Linked DNA regions of Homo sapiens: all the other regions are linked to region 1. The links are contacts of gene promoters, found by promoter capture Hi-C in blood cells and fetal thymus (Javierre and others, 2016). All regions are on one chromosome and are shown on one strand. Each heading gives the region's core, a stretch centred on a gene start or on the middle of the fragment in contact. The rest is flanking DNA. Distances are from core to core; before and after follow the strand shown. Region 1 holds the start of C9orf153 (chromosome 9 open reading frame 153). Region 2 has its middle 18 kb from the start of NAA35. Region 3 overlaps NAA35 (N-alpha-acetyltransferase 35, NatC auxiliary subunit).

What was found. The method cuts DNA at HindIII sites, captures the fragments that hold promoters and counts their contacts. A CHiCAGO score of 5 or more calls a contact.
Region 2: a contact is called between a fragment that was not itself captured here and the fragment with the promoter of C9orf153 in region 1, in 1 of 17 cell types (naive CD8 T cells). The highest score is 5.3, in naive CD8 T cells.
Region 3: a contact is called between a fragment that was not itself captured here and the fragment with the promoter of C9orf153 in region 1, in 1 of 17 cell types (total B cells). The highest score is 5.2, in total B cells.

What each region holds. Positions count from the first base shown.
Region 1 is chr9:86,258,407-86,263,453 of GRCh38, forward strand. C9orf153 (chromosome 9 open reading frame 153) reads right to left here and starts at 1,251. Exons shown (of 4, transcript NM_001276366.4): 1 at 1,144-1,251. It also overlaps the pseudogene RN7SKP264. The HindIII fragment of the contact is 3,437 bases long and covers 1-2,049 here.
Region 2 is chr9:85,920,723-85,925,769 of GRCh38, forward strand. No RefSeq gene overlaps it. Among named protein-coding and RNA genes, the nearest start is that of NAA35, 18 kb to the right of the region's middle. The HindIII fragment of the contact is 3,528 bases long and covers 790-4,317 here.
Region 3 is chr9:85,958,299-85,963,345 of GRCh38, forward strand. It overlaps NAA35 (N-alpha-acetyltransferase 35, NatC auxiliary subunit), which reads left to right. Exons shown (of 23, transcript NM_024635.4): 4 at 174-288; 5 at 1,495-1,569; 6 at 3,715-3,882. Among named protein-coding and RNA genes, the nearest start is that of NAA35, 20 kb to the left of the region's middle. The HindIII fragment of the contact is 4,550 bases long and covers 125-4,674 here.

The sequences.
Region 1 (5,047 bases), core at 1-2,500:
TTGAAGTAATTACTTTTAGAGAGCTTGTTTGGAGGTTCTAGCAGGGGAGTGCAGCTACTCATATACCCTTGCCCAAAGAACGGCCCTCCTCTGTTGGGGAAGGTTGTCCGCAGCGTCTGGAAGGACGCATGTGGACGGATGAGGGAGGAAGGAGACATCCACCTAGCCAGCCAGATCAGACAAATTAACCCTGGCCATCAGTGGGGTGACAGATGTTGCAGCCAGATCACCCTCACATCCGGAAATAATTGCTTTTAAAACGCAATATTTGAAAACCTGAATTTTCTTGGGTAAGCAACTATTATATTGCTAATTTAACGAAACTTTTTTTAAAAATATTAATATACTTAAATTTTAGAGCAATTTTAGAATTGGTTAGAAAGTACAATGTTCCCACAACCCCCCTTCTCTGCACCATACACACAGCTTTCCCCTTTTTTTTTTACTACTTATGTTTGTGTGGTACGTTTGTTATACTTGATGAGCCGGTATCAATGCATGGTTACTAACTAAAGCCCATACTTCACAGTTTACATTACGGTCCATTCTTGGTGTTGTGCATTCTATGAGATTTCACAATGTGCAATTACATATATCCACTTTGATAGTATCATACAGAGCAGTGTTTTTTTTTTTTCTTTGAGATAGGCTCTCATTCTGTCACCCCAGCTGGAGTGCAGTGGCGTGAACACAGGTCACTGCAGCCTCAACCTCCCAGGCTCAGGTGATCCTCCCATCAGCCTCCCAAGTGGCAGAGGAAAAACAAAGGACACTGGGTGTGAGGGAGAGGTGCAAAGTCAGGACCAAGCATCCATGGGAACACAGGGGAGGATGAAGGCACTGAGGTTGGGGAGAGAGAGCAGAGCTATCAGTGTTGAAGGCCGGAAAGGATGAGGGAGTCTGCAGGCTCGGCCCGATCAACTGGTTCCAGCTTCTGTGACCTGCCTGGAGGAAGATGAAACAGGCTCCTCATCCTTATTGGTAAAGATAAACCCAAATCCCATCTCACCTCCCAGCTCTGGTCTTCCCACCTTAGCCACTGCCCACCTCACTCCATCTCTCCTTGCCAAGCCTAGACTGGCTTAGTTTTCACTGCTCTGTGGTCTCACAGTGCCCCGTGGCTATGGCTGTAGATGCACTTACCACTTGTTTTACAGTTGTCTCTTCACGTGGTCATATCTGTCTTGAGTCTCTGCACTCCCAGGGCAGAGGCTGGGTCTCATTCATCCAGCAGCCCCAAGGCCCAGCCCCACTCCTAGCATGTGTCATTGCTTAGTGTTAAGTGACTGTCCATTGTGACATGTGGACATTCTCAAGGTCACATAAGCAGCTATATGATGCTAAGCGATGGGGAATTATCTTGCTGCTTGGTGGGGGGTGGGAGACGGTGGAGGATGATGGAAAAGCATTTTTAAAGAGTGAACATTGAGTAGCTGAGTAGCTACTTTTTTTTCTGCCTCAGCTTGTGGCTGGGACCCCGGGCGCACGCCACCACGCCTGGCTAATTTATGTATTTTTCTCTAGAGATGGGGTTTCGCCATGTTGCCCAGGCTGGCGTGAGTATAATTTTTTTTTTTTTTTGAGATGGAGTCTCACTCTGTCGCCCAGGCTGGAGTGCAGTGGCACGATCTCAGCTCACTGCAAGCTCCGCCTCCCGGGTTCACGCCATTCTCCTGCCTCAGCCTCTTGAGTAGCTGGGACTACAGGTGCCGTGAATGTAATTTTTAATCAGTCAAGTTTTTCCTTCTATAGACATGGGCAAAGTGCAAATAAGAAATTGAGAGAGATAATAGAAGGTACAGCTATGCTCTTTGCACCTGGCCAGATATGGGTAGAAGTGGACCAGGGGCTACCTGGCTGTGCAAATTCTCTCCATGAGCCATGCAGCCGTGCTCCAGACTCCATTCCCCACCCATGGGAGGTCCCTGTGGCAATCACTGAAAATTTTCCTGAAACAGCCATTTCCCCAGAATGCAATCTACTGGGCATTTAAATAGTCTGATTGAGTTAATAACTTGTGAACACCGTGGCAACATATCCATAACATGAAGCTTACCGTGTTAAGCCGTTTTAGGTACACAGTTCTGTGGCATTCAGTACATTCACATTGTTGTGCCACCTGCACTGCCTTCCATCTCCAGAGCTTTTTCATCTTTTCCACCTGAATCTGTGTCCATGAAATAAATTTCTCACCCCCTGTCCCCTGTCAATGGACACCTGGGTTGTTCCTACCTTTTGGCTATTGTGAATAATGCTGTTATGAACATGGATATACAAGAAAGTTAATAATTTTAAGCAGAATTTAATAAATACAGAAGATTCTTCCAATGAGAAAATATTTCAAAAGCCTGCCATTCAAAGGTGTTCTGCAGAGCAACAGCACTGGCTTCACTTGGGCCTTTGCTACTAATGCAGAATCTCAGGCTCTGCCCTGGACCTTTGTTACAGAATCTGCTTTTTTTTTTTTTTTGAGACAGTTTTGCTCTGTCACCCAGGCTGGAATGCAGTGGTGCCATCTCATGTCACTGCAACCTCCCCACCTCCCAGGTTCAAGTGATTCTCCTGCCTCAGCCTCCTGAGTAGCTGGGACTAGAGGCGCCCACCACTATGTCTGGCTAATTTTTGTGTATTTTTAGTAGAGATGGGGTTTCACCATGTTGGCCAGGCTGGTCTCGAACTCCTGACCTCAAGTGATCCACTCGCCTCAGCCTCCCAAAGTGCTGGATTACAGGCGTGAGCTACCTACTGCGCCCGGCCAAGAATCTGCTTTTTAACAAGACCCCCAGGTGACTTATTTGCACCTTAAAGTTTGAGGACTGCTTCAAGACATAGAATCCATGGAGAACAAAAAATGAGTACTTTATTTTTTATTCTTTTTTTTTTTGAGACAGGGTCTTGCTCTGTCATCCAGGCTGGAGTGCAGTAGTACGATCTTGGCTCACTGCAACCTCTACCTCCTGGGCTAAAGTGATCCTCTCACCTTGGTCTCCTGAGCAACGGGGACTACAGGCATGTACCACCATGACCAGCTAATTTTTGTATTTTTTGTAGAGACGGCGTTTTACCACGTTGCCCAGGCTGGTCTTGAACTCCTGGGATCAGGTGATCTGCCCACTTTTGCCTCCCAAAGTGCTGGGATTACAGGCTTGAGCCAACACACCTGGCCCAATAAATGGGCACTTCATCATGAAAAGTTTCGGAATCACTAGCTAGTGGAAGTAAAAGCAGTAACCCATCAAGGCCCTCAAAGTAGGCTAGTTTTAAGCTGAGTACCGCTGGTACAGAGCCCTTGCCCCGCTAAAGGTTGGTGTGAAATGAAGCCTTCCCTGAACACTGCACAGCAGCAAGGGAGGATGGGAGTCCACAGTGATGTAACCACCACATGGCTCTGTATTTCAATAGAGGCTGAGGCTAGGGTGCACCTCCCTCTCTCCTCCATCTCTTGTCTGATGAGACCCACCTGGGACCAGGAGATTGAGTTCCTACTGGGGAATGAGCTTTCAAAACAGCTCCTCAATTAAGGCAGGTTTGTCTATAGTTAATCAGCTACTAAGAGAATGAAATTTCTCCGAATGTTTATATTTGAAATTTATGGTTCTTTTCAAAGAAGTTACTGTGGTCTTTTATTTGAAGGAAATACAGCAAATTTCCCCCAGATTTGAATATGGGACAATAACTCCCTAAATGTGTTGAAACTCTTTCCCTAAGCTCTTGCTTTGATTGATAATCCATTAACATATTATCCCTTTTTGCACAAGAAAATGGCTAAAAGGGACAAGAATTACAACGTATGAAACGTCTACCCTTAGCAGGATGCCATTTATGTGTAGTTAGCTCATCACATCCCCCCAAATTCTGAGACTGTTTTACAGAAGGTTACATGGCTACAAAATGACAGGAACCATGATTCAAATCCAGGCATATCTCACCCCAAACCTACACCTTTCCAGGCCAGCCTCCCAGCCTGCACTGAGCTCAGGTGAGCTGTATTTGGGTTTATTCTGGGTCGATGCTGTGTCTGGCCCATGCCACGTCTGCTCTAAGGCTCAAATGAGACACTGATGTTGCTTACAGCTCAGCTTAGCACAGGCTTTTCCATTTCCTGATTTCTCAGGTATCAAAACATGACAAGAAAGGCCATTTTTTTTTTGAGGTATTTCCTGCTGAGTGAAACCTAGGAAATACTGGAAATCTTAGGGACATCTGATCTTGTAGGGATTGTTCCCAACCCTTTCCTGTTTGAGAAAAAAAAAATCATTCTGGTGGGTCCGGTGACAGAGGGCTGGGAGGCGCCCTGCAACAATGAAGCACAGCAGGCCTCTGTCCTCATGGCCTGATTCATTCAATTTAGCATCCTGATGTGGAAGAGTGGGCTTATAACTGATCATGAAAAGCCTGAAGTCTGCTGCTAAGCGACAGATCTGCTGGCCTACACATCACCCAGGGGCACTACCAAATCGCCTAACACAATGACCAGTGTTTGTGAGTAGAATGTGGATGAATGTGGTGCAACAGACAGAACCTTCCTGGTGAGGGCTAAGGCTTGCATGACATGGTGTGACATGGCCGTAGGATGGAGCCATTTTGCAAAAATAATTCTGACCTGCCCGATGCTAAACGAACACTGAAGAAGCAATTGCGTTCCTGTCTCCAAGATCCTTTCAATATTGTACAAGAGACAAGAACCAAAACCAATGAACAGTACAAGTACTGCCTGTACAAATAGAAATGAGTCACAGAACACTGGCTGATGAGGTTGGGCTACGGATAGAGTACCATCCTTTCTGCCTCCTAAGCCTTTCTCTCACGGGTCCCTGCTCAGGTCCTATTATAGCGGGCTTTGCAGTAGCTTCTTCCTGTCCTCATCAGCCAGCCTAGTCCAGGCCATGGAAACACTTCCAAATGCAATTTTCTAATGAGTGCCCCTAAACACTTTCAGTGGCCCCAAGGCCTACAGAACTTGCAGAAAGCCCAAACGCCCCAGGCATCTACCTTGCCCTCCAGCCTTACTGCTCCTCTCCGGGCCTCATTCTCCGGAGTGCTTAGC
Region 2 (5,047 bases), core at 1,304-3,803, 340 kb before region 1:
AAAGTGCTGAGATTATAGGTGTGAGCCACTTTGCCTGATCTTGTGCATGGCTTTTAAAAGCAGGCAACCCAGTGCCATTCCAATTTGCATTTGGTGCTCAGGAATAGGCTGCAGTTAGCAGTGTTTCCAGGAGTTGTCCAGAATACATATTTTACTTTCTTTTTGTGTTTTTCTGTTTTCTTTTGTCTGCTAAGTTTTGTGGCTGAATTTTCGAGTTGTGCTTTCCACCTCTTTCTTTGGGGGAACTCTTTATACCTCTGTCTGACACAGTACATTTTGTCCCCTTATCCACTTGCTGTTGTGGACATCAGTGAGTGCACCCACAGCCTCAGGTAGGTGACTATTTATTTATTTATATTATTATTATTGTTTTTTGAGACAGGGTCTTGCTCTGTTGCCCAGGCTGGAGTGTAGTGGCACAATCTCAGCTCACTGCAACCTCCACTTCCCAGGTTCAAGCGATTCTCATGGCTCAGCCTCACAAGTAACTGGGATTACAGGCACCTGCCACTATGCCTGGCTAATTTTTGTATTTTTAGTAGAGACAGGGTTTTGCCATGTTAGCCAGGCTGGTCTCGAACTCCTGACCTCAAGTGATCCGCCCACCCTGGCCTGCCAATGTGCTAGGATTACAGGCATGAGCCACTGCGCCTGGCCAAGGGATTCTTTAAAATTCCACCAGCAGCTATAATCTCTCGCTTCCCCTTTCCCATACAATCAGCTCCAAGTGCTAAGATTTAGGCATCTATTATGTGCCAGACATTGTTAAAATAAATTCTTTATATTTCAAGCTTTCTATATATGATCTTATTTCATCTTTCCAATTATGCTAAAAAATGGGTGCTATTATTATCTTCCCCATATTATTACCTTTCCCTAAATGGAAGAAACTGAAATTCTTTCCATTTCAGTCACACCTCAAAATAAGGAAAGAGACTCCGTGGTTCCTGGTTATAAATGACAGAAACTGACCCTTGCTGATGTAAGAAGGGAGCACATTTATTAAAAATGTCTTGGGTTTGGATGTAAATGTCTTCTTGGTGTCAAAATTCTATTGATTTTATAGCTCATCTTTATCCTATTTGAGTTTTCTAATAAATTTAAAGTTGACAAAAGACAGAAATTCTTTACATTTTTGCTTCTACAAGACTATGAACCTGTTAAAAACCAATTATGTCCCTTTTTTCTAAGTAGCTAATGTAGGGTCTTGAATATGTTGTGTACTGATTAAATGTGTGACTCGTTGAGGTATAGGTGGATTCTGCCTTCTAGCATAGGGCTGAGGTGTGGTCTGAAGCAAGCCATTGCCTAGCAGCTTGTTAGAAGTGTAAAGTCATGGGCCTCACCCTGGACCTGCTGAATCAGGATCTGGGGAAGAAGGAGCAGGACATATTAACAAGCCATTCAGGTGATTCTGATGCACTCTTGGGTTTGAAAAGCTCTGCTTTCATGGCTCCTAGTCCAGTAGACCCATGGAAAAATTAATTTATAAACAAATATTCACTATTTAATCTAAAAGCCATAGTAATAAGTAATGCCTCTTTACTAAAATGTAAGAGGTATGAGTTCACCTTAAAACTGTGATGTCTTTCTCATCTTCTCCTGCCCTAAGCTACTTCATTCCTTCCTTTTTCATTTGTGTGCTGTTCAGAAATCAAGGTAGAAGTCAAGTGATGTTTGCTGTTTTGTGTGACACACCAAGTCACACCCGATCCACACTGATCAGGATAGGAAATTGTTTCTTCCATCTAGTGACTTGAAAGAGAAGGGAGCATCAGTTTGAGTGAATGTGTGTCAGCCTAGAGAGATAGATAGAGCATCTATCTCTCTGTATCTATCTATCTATCATCTATCTGTCTGTCTGTCCGTCTGTCTATCTATCTACCTATCTATCTATTGATCGAACTCACTCATTACCATGAAGATGGCACCAAGCCATTTCATGAGGGACTTGCCTCCATGACCCAGACACCTCCCACCAGGCCCCACCTCTAACATTGGGGATTACATTTCAACATGAAATTTTGAGGGGACAAACCTCCAAACCGTATCAGCCAGCTTTCTCTAGAGAAGTGATTCTCAACTTTGGCTTCACATCAGAATCACCTGGTGGGTTTCTAAAAACTTTCATTACCCTGTGCTCTGGAGGTTCAGGTGGAGCCAGGAGAAATGTGGATCTTCCCAAGTTGCCCATTCTTTGACACTTACCCACTTTGAAATCAACATATGACTGGTTAGCTGCAACTTATGAGATACTATTGCTAGCAGCTCTTTGGGCCTTGTGGGTGGCCACAAATCCCTCCAATGGTACCAGGTTGGCCATAAAATATGCTGCCCTCCAGACCTTCTGCTTCTGGGACTATTCCAGGAGTTTGAGTTCTAACCAGGAATGTTTCTTGCCTCTCTGAGCTGGAATCCCAAGCCCTCTGAGAGCTTAATTTTTTAAAAAAATGTTGTATTGCAGCTTCAGTTAAATGATTTTTAGTAAATTTACAAAGTTGTAAAGCTATCACTACCCCAGAAACATCCCTCATGACCCCTTACAATCACTCCCCATTCGCACTCCTGACCATGCTCAAATTCTACTTTTTTTTTTTTTTTTTTTTTTGGAGACAGGGTCTTTCCCTGTTGCCCAGGCTGGAGTTCAGTGGCACGATCATGGCTCACCGCTGCCTCAACATTTTGGGCTCAAGCAGTCCTCCCCACTCAGCTTCCCAAAGTGTTGGGACTGTACGCATGAGCCACCGCACCTGGTCAAATTCTTTTTTAAAAGAGCTATATTGAGATATAACTCACATACCATGCAATTAATCTATTGAAGGTGTACAGTTCAAGGGCTGGTAGTATTTTCAGAGTTGTGGGCCCATCATGACAATGTATTTTAGAACATTTTCATTACCTCAGAAAGAAACCCTGTACCCCTTAGCCATCACTCCCAACCTTCTAACTCCCCTAGCCCTAGGCAACCACTGGTCTACTTTTTGTCTCTAGAGGTTCGCCTTCTCTAGATATTTTACATCAATGCAATCATATAATGATGTGGTCTTTTGTGACTGGCTTCTCCTTTGAACATCAGAGTTTCAAGGTTCATCATCCATGTTATAGCATGTATCAATACTTCATTTCTCTTTATTGCTGAATAGTATTCCATTGTATGAATATATCACATTTTATTTATCCATCATCAATTGATAGACATTGGGTTGTTTTCACTTTTTGGCTCTTAGGAATAAAGGGACTGTAACCTAGTCTTGTAACAAGTAGCAGAGAGCCAATCACAGAAGCTGAATTTCAGCCAATCACAGGCAGCCAACTGTTTAAACCACGTTCCAATAAGGCAAATGCAGAGCTGTAACCAATCCACCTTTTTCCTTACCTCACTTCTGTTTTCCATATATCATTTCTTTTTCTGTGCATAAATGTCATGTGACTATGTGGCAGCCCCAGAGCCTGATTTGTTAATTGTTCTTTGCTCAATTAAACTCTAAGTTTAATTTGTCTAAAGTTTTTCTTTTAACAGGACATTCATGTACACATTGTGTGGAAATAAGTTTTTATTTCTCTCAGGTATATACCTAGGAGTAGAATAGATGGGTTATAGGGTAACATATGTTTAGCTTTCTTTTCTTTTCTTTTCTTTTTTCTTGAGACAGGGTCTCACTTTGTTGCCCAGGCTGGAGTACAGTGGTGGGATCACAGCCTTGCAGCCTTGAATTCCTGGACTCAAGTGATCCTACTGCTTCAGCCTCTTTAATAGTTAAGACTACAGACGTGCACCACCATGCCTGGTTAATTTTTAAAAATGTTTTTGTAGAGACTGGGTCTCACTTTGTTGCTCTGACTGGTCTTGAACTCCTGGCTTCAAGTGATCCACTTGCCTTGGCCTTCCAAGATGGTGGGATTACAGGTGTGAGCCAGTGTGTCTGGCCTGTTTTAGCCTTTTGAGGAACTGCTATTCTTTTCAAAGCAGCTGTGCCATCTTACATTCCTATCAGCAACGTATGCGGGTTCCAATTTCTTCACATCCTTATCAACAATTTTTATTATGGATCTCTTTTATGATGTGAAGTGGTGTCTCATTTGTATTTTCCTGATGGCTAATGCTGAGTATCTTTTCATGTGTACACTGGCCATTTGTAGTTCTTATTTGGAGAATAGCCTATTCAGATCTTTTGCTTATTTTTAGATTGGGTTACTTGTCTATTTATTATTGAGTTGTAATAGTTCTTTATATGTCCTATATACAAGTCTTGTATCAGATATATGACTTGCAAAAATTATCTTCCATTCCTTGGGTTGTCTTTGGACTTTCTTTAAAGCTTCTACCACTCTTGTGATACTCTGCTTCATGCTGGCTCATGTTATAGTGAGTTGTTAACATGTACCACTCTTCTTTGAAATCAGAAGCTAATTGAGGTGCATATCTTTGTTTTTGTATACCACCAGAAACCTAGATTGCTTTCTGCACATGAATAGTGCATTTGGGATTTGAGGCCTGCATGCCAGATCCTATTGTATGAACTATTTCGAGTGTTACTAAAGCCAGACATTTTGTTTTCCACATCAAGACAACCCAGCTGCCTTGTATCTGGATAAAATAAATGGGCGAACACAATTGATTCTATCCATTAACAATTGTTCCCTTTACCAAGAAAAAAAATAGCATTGCCATGTGAGTCACCATTTCATAAATAAGCTGTATTCCAAAAATTCACTTGTATGGCAGTTATTTGTAGTGCTGAACATATGAACATATTTTCACCTAGTACCAATGTGATAACAATGGCTCAGTGTACGATTCTAGGACTCAAAGCCAACTGCATTTCTGAAGAAGCTTGCTGTAAGCATGTACATCATAGGCCAAAAGAGCCCTTCATGATCTGGTCTGGCCTGGGAAAGATGGATATCATCATGTGATATCCATGAGGAAGTGTGTTAGGGCATCGAGCAGCTGCATAAACATGTGTCTTCTGTCTGTGTACATGTGTTGTAGACCCAGTGACTTCTGGTCAGCAAGCCTGAAGTTAAAAGAGGATTTGGGAATATA
Region 3 (5,047 bases), core at 1,150-3,649, 300 kb before region 1:
TAATTTCTGTGTCAGTCGACAGTTAATTGAAATAGAAGTGTTAGCAAGTTGAGAAGACTAAATGCATAGAATACTTTAGTTATTAAAAGTAGTATAATTTTATACCGTTGTGAAAATATGAATAAGCTTACTGGCTCAAAAACAATTTGTTGGCTCAATTTTTTTATTTGCAGATTTGGTCTTTTTGAAGCCATGTCTGCTATTGAAATGATGGATCCCAAGATGGATGCTGGCATGATTGGAAACCAAGTTAATCGAAAAGTTCTCAATTTTGAACAAGCTATCAAGGTAGTTACCATTGTACTTTTTGTGTTTCCATTTATCTTTTGTTACTTCCTGTTAAAACATGGTGCTTAATAATGAAATGAAACGTTGTATTAAAGTCTGTTTCCTTCAAAGCAGCTCAAGCATATAAACAAGAATTAGTTATAACCTTTGTATGTTAAAGTCTGAAAATTGAGGTCTTCATTAAAATCTTGCTCTAAATTTGTGCATTTGTGTACTTTTAAATTTAATTTTTGAAAGCATTTGACTATATATTCAAATAGGAAAATTGGCTTGGGGGTTAAATTTTGTGTATTAATATATTCATATATAAAAGTAAATTTACACAAGTAAAATACTTGTGGTAGTGAATTTAAAATTGCTTTAGAAATTCATTTATACTTGCCATAGAGTTTGATTTTACATATTTTATAAAGAAAGATTTACTAGGCAAATGGATATCGTAAACAAAATTTACAAATAGTATAGTTAACCAACTTAAGTGAAGCATTTTAAAAAATCTTTAGTTTTCGGCTGGGTGCGGTGGTTCATGCCTGTAATCCCAGCACTTTGGGAGGCCGAGGTGGGTGGATCACGAGGTCAGGAGATCAAGACCATCTTGGCTAATACAGTGAAACCCCGTCTCTACTAAAAATACAAAAAATTAGCTGGGCGTGGTGGCAGGCGCCTGTAGTCCCAGCTAATCCGGAGGCTGAGGCAGGAGAATGGCGTGGACCCGGGAGGCGGAGCTTGCATTGAGCCGAGATCACGCCACCTGCACTCCAGCCTGGGCGACAGAGTGAGACTCTGTCTCAAAAAAAAAAAAACAAAAAAAAAAACTTTAGTTTTCTTTCTAAGTAGTTTTGGGTCATTAAAATGATTTATATTAATACTTAAAGCTGGTTTGAACTGTGCTTTTAAAATACTTGTTGATTTGGCTTTTCATTTTATATAAAGGCCTTTATTTTGATATTTCTTGTTGAAGACCTAAGATATATTGTTTTTACAATTATTATTTGTCAATTAAAAATAAAATTTATAAGAAGATATATTGTTTTTAAGAGTACAGAGTTAATTTGGTGTGATAGTTTTATCAGATGATAAGATAGCATTTTCTTAGAATTGCTGTTTTTAAATATTGAATGTTAGAAATCCAAAATGCTACTATACATAGTAACCATAAGTTTAAAAAAATTTCTGCTTATATGTCACATTCTTCCTCCTTTTTAGGATGGCACTATTAAAATTAAAGATCTCACCTTGCCTGAACTGATAGGGATTATGGATACATGTTTTTGCTGTTTGGTAAGAATGGAAATAAGACTATTGGTTAATTTTAAAACTGTGACTTACCTGAATCTTGTGATTTAAAAGCCTATACACTAATGTTGAGTATGAAATAAATGTAATACTTGCCCTAGTAAAGATGTGCATAAGATTAACAGGCCTAGTAATAGCATTTCATCTTGTTATCTACTTGATTTTACATTCTAATTTTCTGGGTGAAGGGATATTTTCTTTTCAATGAAGATAATATTATAGCCGTGGTTCATAATACCCTTTTCGTTCTCAAGTTACTCAAGTGATAAGTCTGTAATTGGAAGGTTTCATAAATAAGCATGGAATTGAAACAAAAGAGAGCTATTATGCAATGGCTTTGGAGAGATTTTTTCTAATCTAGGATAAATTGTAGTAAACTGGCCATCTCCTGTGAAGAAAATTTTTTTAGTGATTTGTATATGCTGAATTATGTCTTCCCTAGAAAGTACTGTTTGTCGAGAAATTCTCATTTCTACTGCTTCCCCCCCGCCCCACTTTCTGACCATCCCTTTCTTTTTATATTGACATTAAATCATTTTCCTTAGAAATATGTAAAATTTATTCATTTGTTCATTCAGCATTTATTGATTGCTAGTGTGTGTACTTGTATTAGGTGTTTTATATGTATAGTTTTCACTTATGTTTTACATGAGCTTTATTAGATATCTGTATTATCTTACTGCCTGTGATTACATTGCTTGGGAGGGGCCTAGCCAGAATCTTAATCCTGATCCTTCATCTTCCAAAGCTGTCTCTTTACCCCCTCAAAGATTTCTTTATTACCTTTTAGCAGTTTACAGTCCTAGTGGGTGGAGTAAAGAAAGGAGTCAAAGGATTGCTGGGAACAGACATGTGAATAAACAATTCTGACAACATGTAAATGCTTTTATGACGGTGCCGTGGGAACAGAGAGGAGGAGTTAATTATGTCTGAGAGAGTAAGAAAGGCTGTAGAAAGGAATTAATACTGGTGTGAGGTACTAAAGAATGGTAGGCGTATGACAGGAAGATTCATGGTTTAGTAGGCAAAGAGGGTATATTGCATGGGCATGACAATGTGAAAATGTTCATTTTGGAAAATCATAAATAGCTGCTTAAGTCTGGCAGGGAGCCAAGTAGGAGGAGTGTGGGATTAGTGGAGAGTGGTGGAGAAGGAGGAAAGGATAAACAGAGGGAGGATTTTTGCCAAAGTTGAGGAACTATTCTGTGAGACTCTTGGGACTGTATTTAAAAATTTGGACTTTAAAAGGCAGATGGTTTTTAGTCTGGAAAGTCTGTCTTCTGCACACTAGTTAATACCAAATACACACCTTAATTACAGAGTTTTCCACAAACATTTGTCATTTTGCAATGCAGTAGCGTATGTCTTACTCTACTGCAGAATTCTTGGGCTTAAGGTAAAAATAACTATAAACTTGGGCAAATGATTTAAACTCTTACTCTGTTTCTTTACATATAAAAGGAGAAAAATACCACCTTTCTCAAAGTGCTAGGAAAAAAATGAGATAAGATATTTGAAAATAACCTAGTATAATATTTGAGACACAGTACTTACCCAATTTTGCCTATTGTTGGTATTCCCAACCTCTAGTACATGGTGCCAGACATATAGTGGTCACTTAGTAAAATAGTATAAAACAATTATCTTAGTGTTTTAGAAAGATCTCTAGTTGGGGGTATTAAATTAGAGATGGGAGGCAGGAAAACCTATCTAGTTTCTTGAAATAATCTAGGTGAGATACGGTGTTGGCTGGGTTGTGGTGGTAAGGATTATAAAGTTCAATGAGTGTCTAAGGATCTGGTTAGTTCTATAATTGTGAATTTTCCAGTTTATGGATTTTTTTATTGACTACATTGTGGAGTTGATTTCTTTTGGATGCTACATAAAGAGGCAGTCTTAATTTCATTAATCTCTAATATGTTGCAAACTGATTGATGTACGACAATGATTCCCATAGACACTTGAAAAATGTTAGTCAATGAAAGTGAATTCTAACGTGTCTTTTTTTTTTAAGTCTTGTGATTAATCTTATTTGGGTCTATGGTGCTCTGGCCTTTGACTCTAGGATCAATTTAGACTTTGCAGACTCAGTTTATCACCTTAAATATATACTCTTTTGTTTCTTTATAGATAACGTGGTTAGAAGGCCATTCACTGGCACAGACAGTATTTACGTGCCTTTACATTCATAATCCAGACTTTATAGAAGATCCTGCTATGAAGGCTTTTGCTCTGGGAATCTTGAAAATCTGTGACATTGCAAGGGAAAAAGTAAATAAAGCTGCTGTTTTTGAAGAGGTAAGATTTCGTAATGTAAGAAATCCTTGGCCAGGTGCGGTGGCTCATGCCTGTAATCTCAGCAGTTTGGGAGGCCAAGGTGGGCAGATCACCTGAGGTCAGGAGTTTGAGACCAGCCTGGCCAACATGGTGAAACACTGTCTCTACTAAAAATACACAAAATAGCCAGGTGTGGTGGCATGCATCTGTAATCCCAGCTACTTGGGAGGCTGAGGCATGAGAGTTGCTTGAACCCAGGAGGCAGAGGTTGCGGTGAGCTGAGATTGTGCCACTGCACTCCAGCCTGGGCAACAGAGCGAGACTCTGTCTCAAAAAAAAAAAAAAAAAAAGAAAGAAAAAAGAATTTCTGAAGTTCATTGACTACCTTATTCACTGTGATGTATTTAAATGATTTTGTGATATGTACTTTCGTCTACGTGTATATTTAAAAACAGTTTTTAAAAGTAATGCTGTTGCCATTTACAGATATATTGGGTAAAGTAATTCAGTTCTCTCCAAGAAAGGGCTTTCATCTTAGCATATGTTCTTTCTGTAGTACCATTCATTGAATATCCGTATGTGCAGAGTGCTGTTTTTGGATGTTGTGGGGATTCCCAGAGAAAAATGAAAGAGACAGCCCTTGTCCTCAAGTCTCTTAGAAGTTATAATACAAAAAGGGAGCTAAGGAGAACAAAGATATGAATATTTTAGGGTATAGACATTTTCCTTTAGTTTGTCCTAAGTACCTCACCTGAGGAAGTATTGTGAGTTTTAGAGATAGAAAGATTTTTTTCCCCTTTAGTATAAAAAATAAGCTTTCAGACGCTGATAATTTTCAGGGAATTGCATCTCAACCTAGGACTACAAAAAAAAGAATTGTAAGGGAAAATGTGATAGCATTTGAAATTATTGATAACTATTTTTGTTAAATTCTTCTGTTGAAACTGATATTTCTTTTTAGTGCTGTTACTGCTCCAGAATAAATTTCCTAGGATCCAACAGTGGTTCAGTGTATAATATGTAAAACTTTTCTCAATTTATACTATGTATGTGAGAATAATTAAATGTATACCCAATATGTTTGTCCATATTTGAAGGTATGGCTTTTTTTTTTTTTTTTTTTTTTTTGAGAGGGGGTTTTAGTCCTGTTGCCCAGGTTGGAGTACAATGGGGCAGTTTCGGCTCA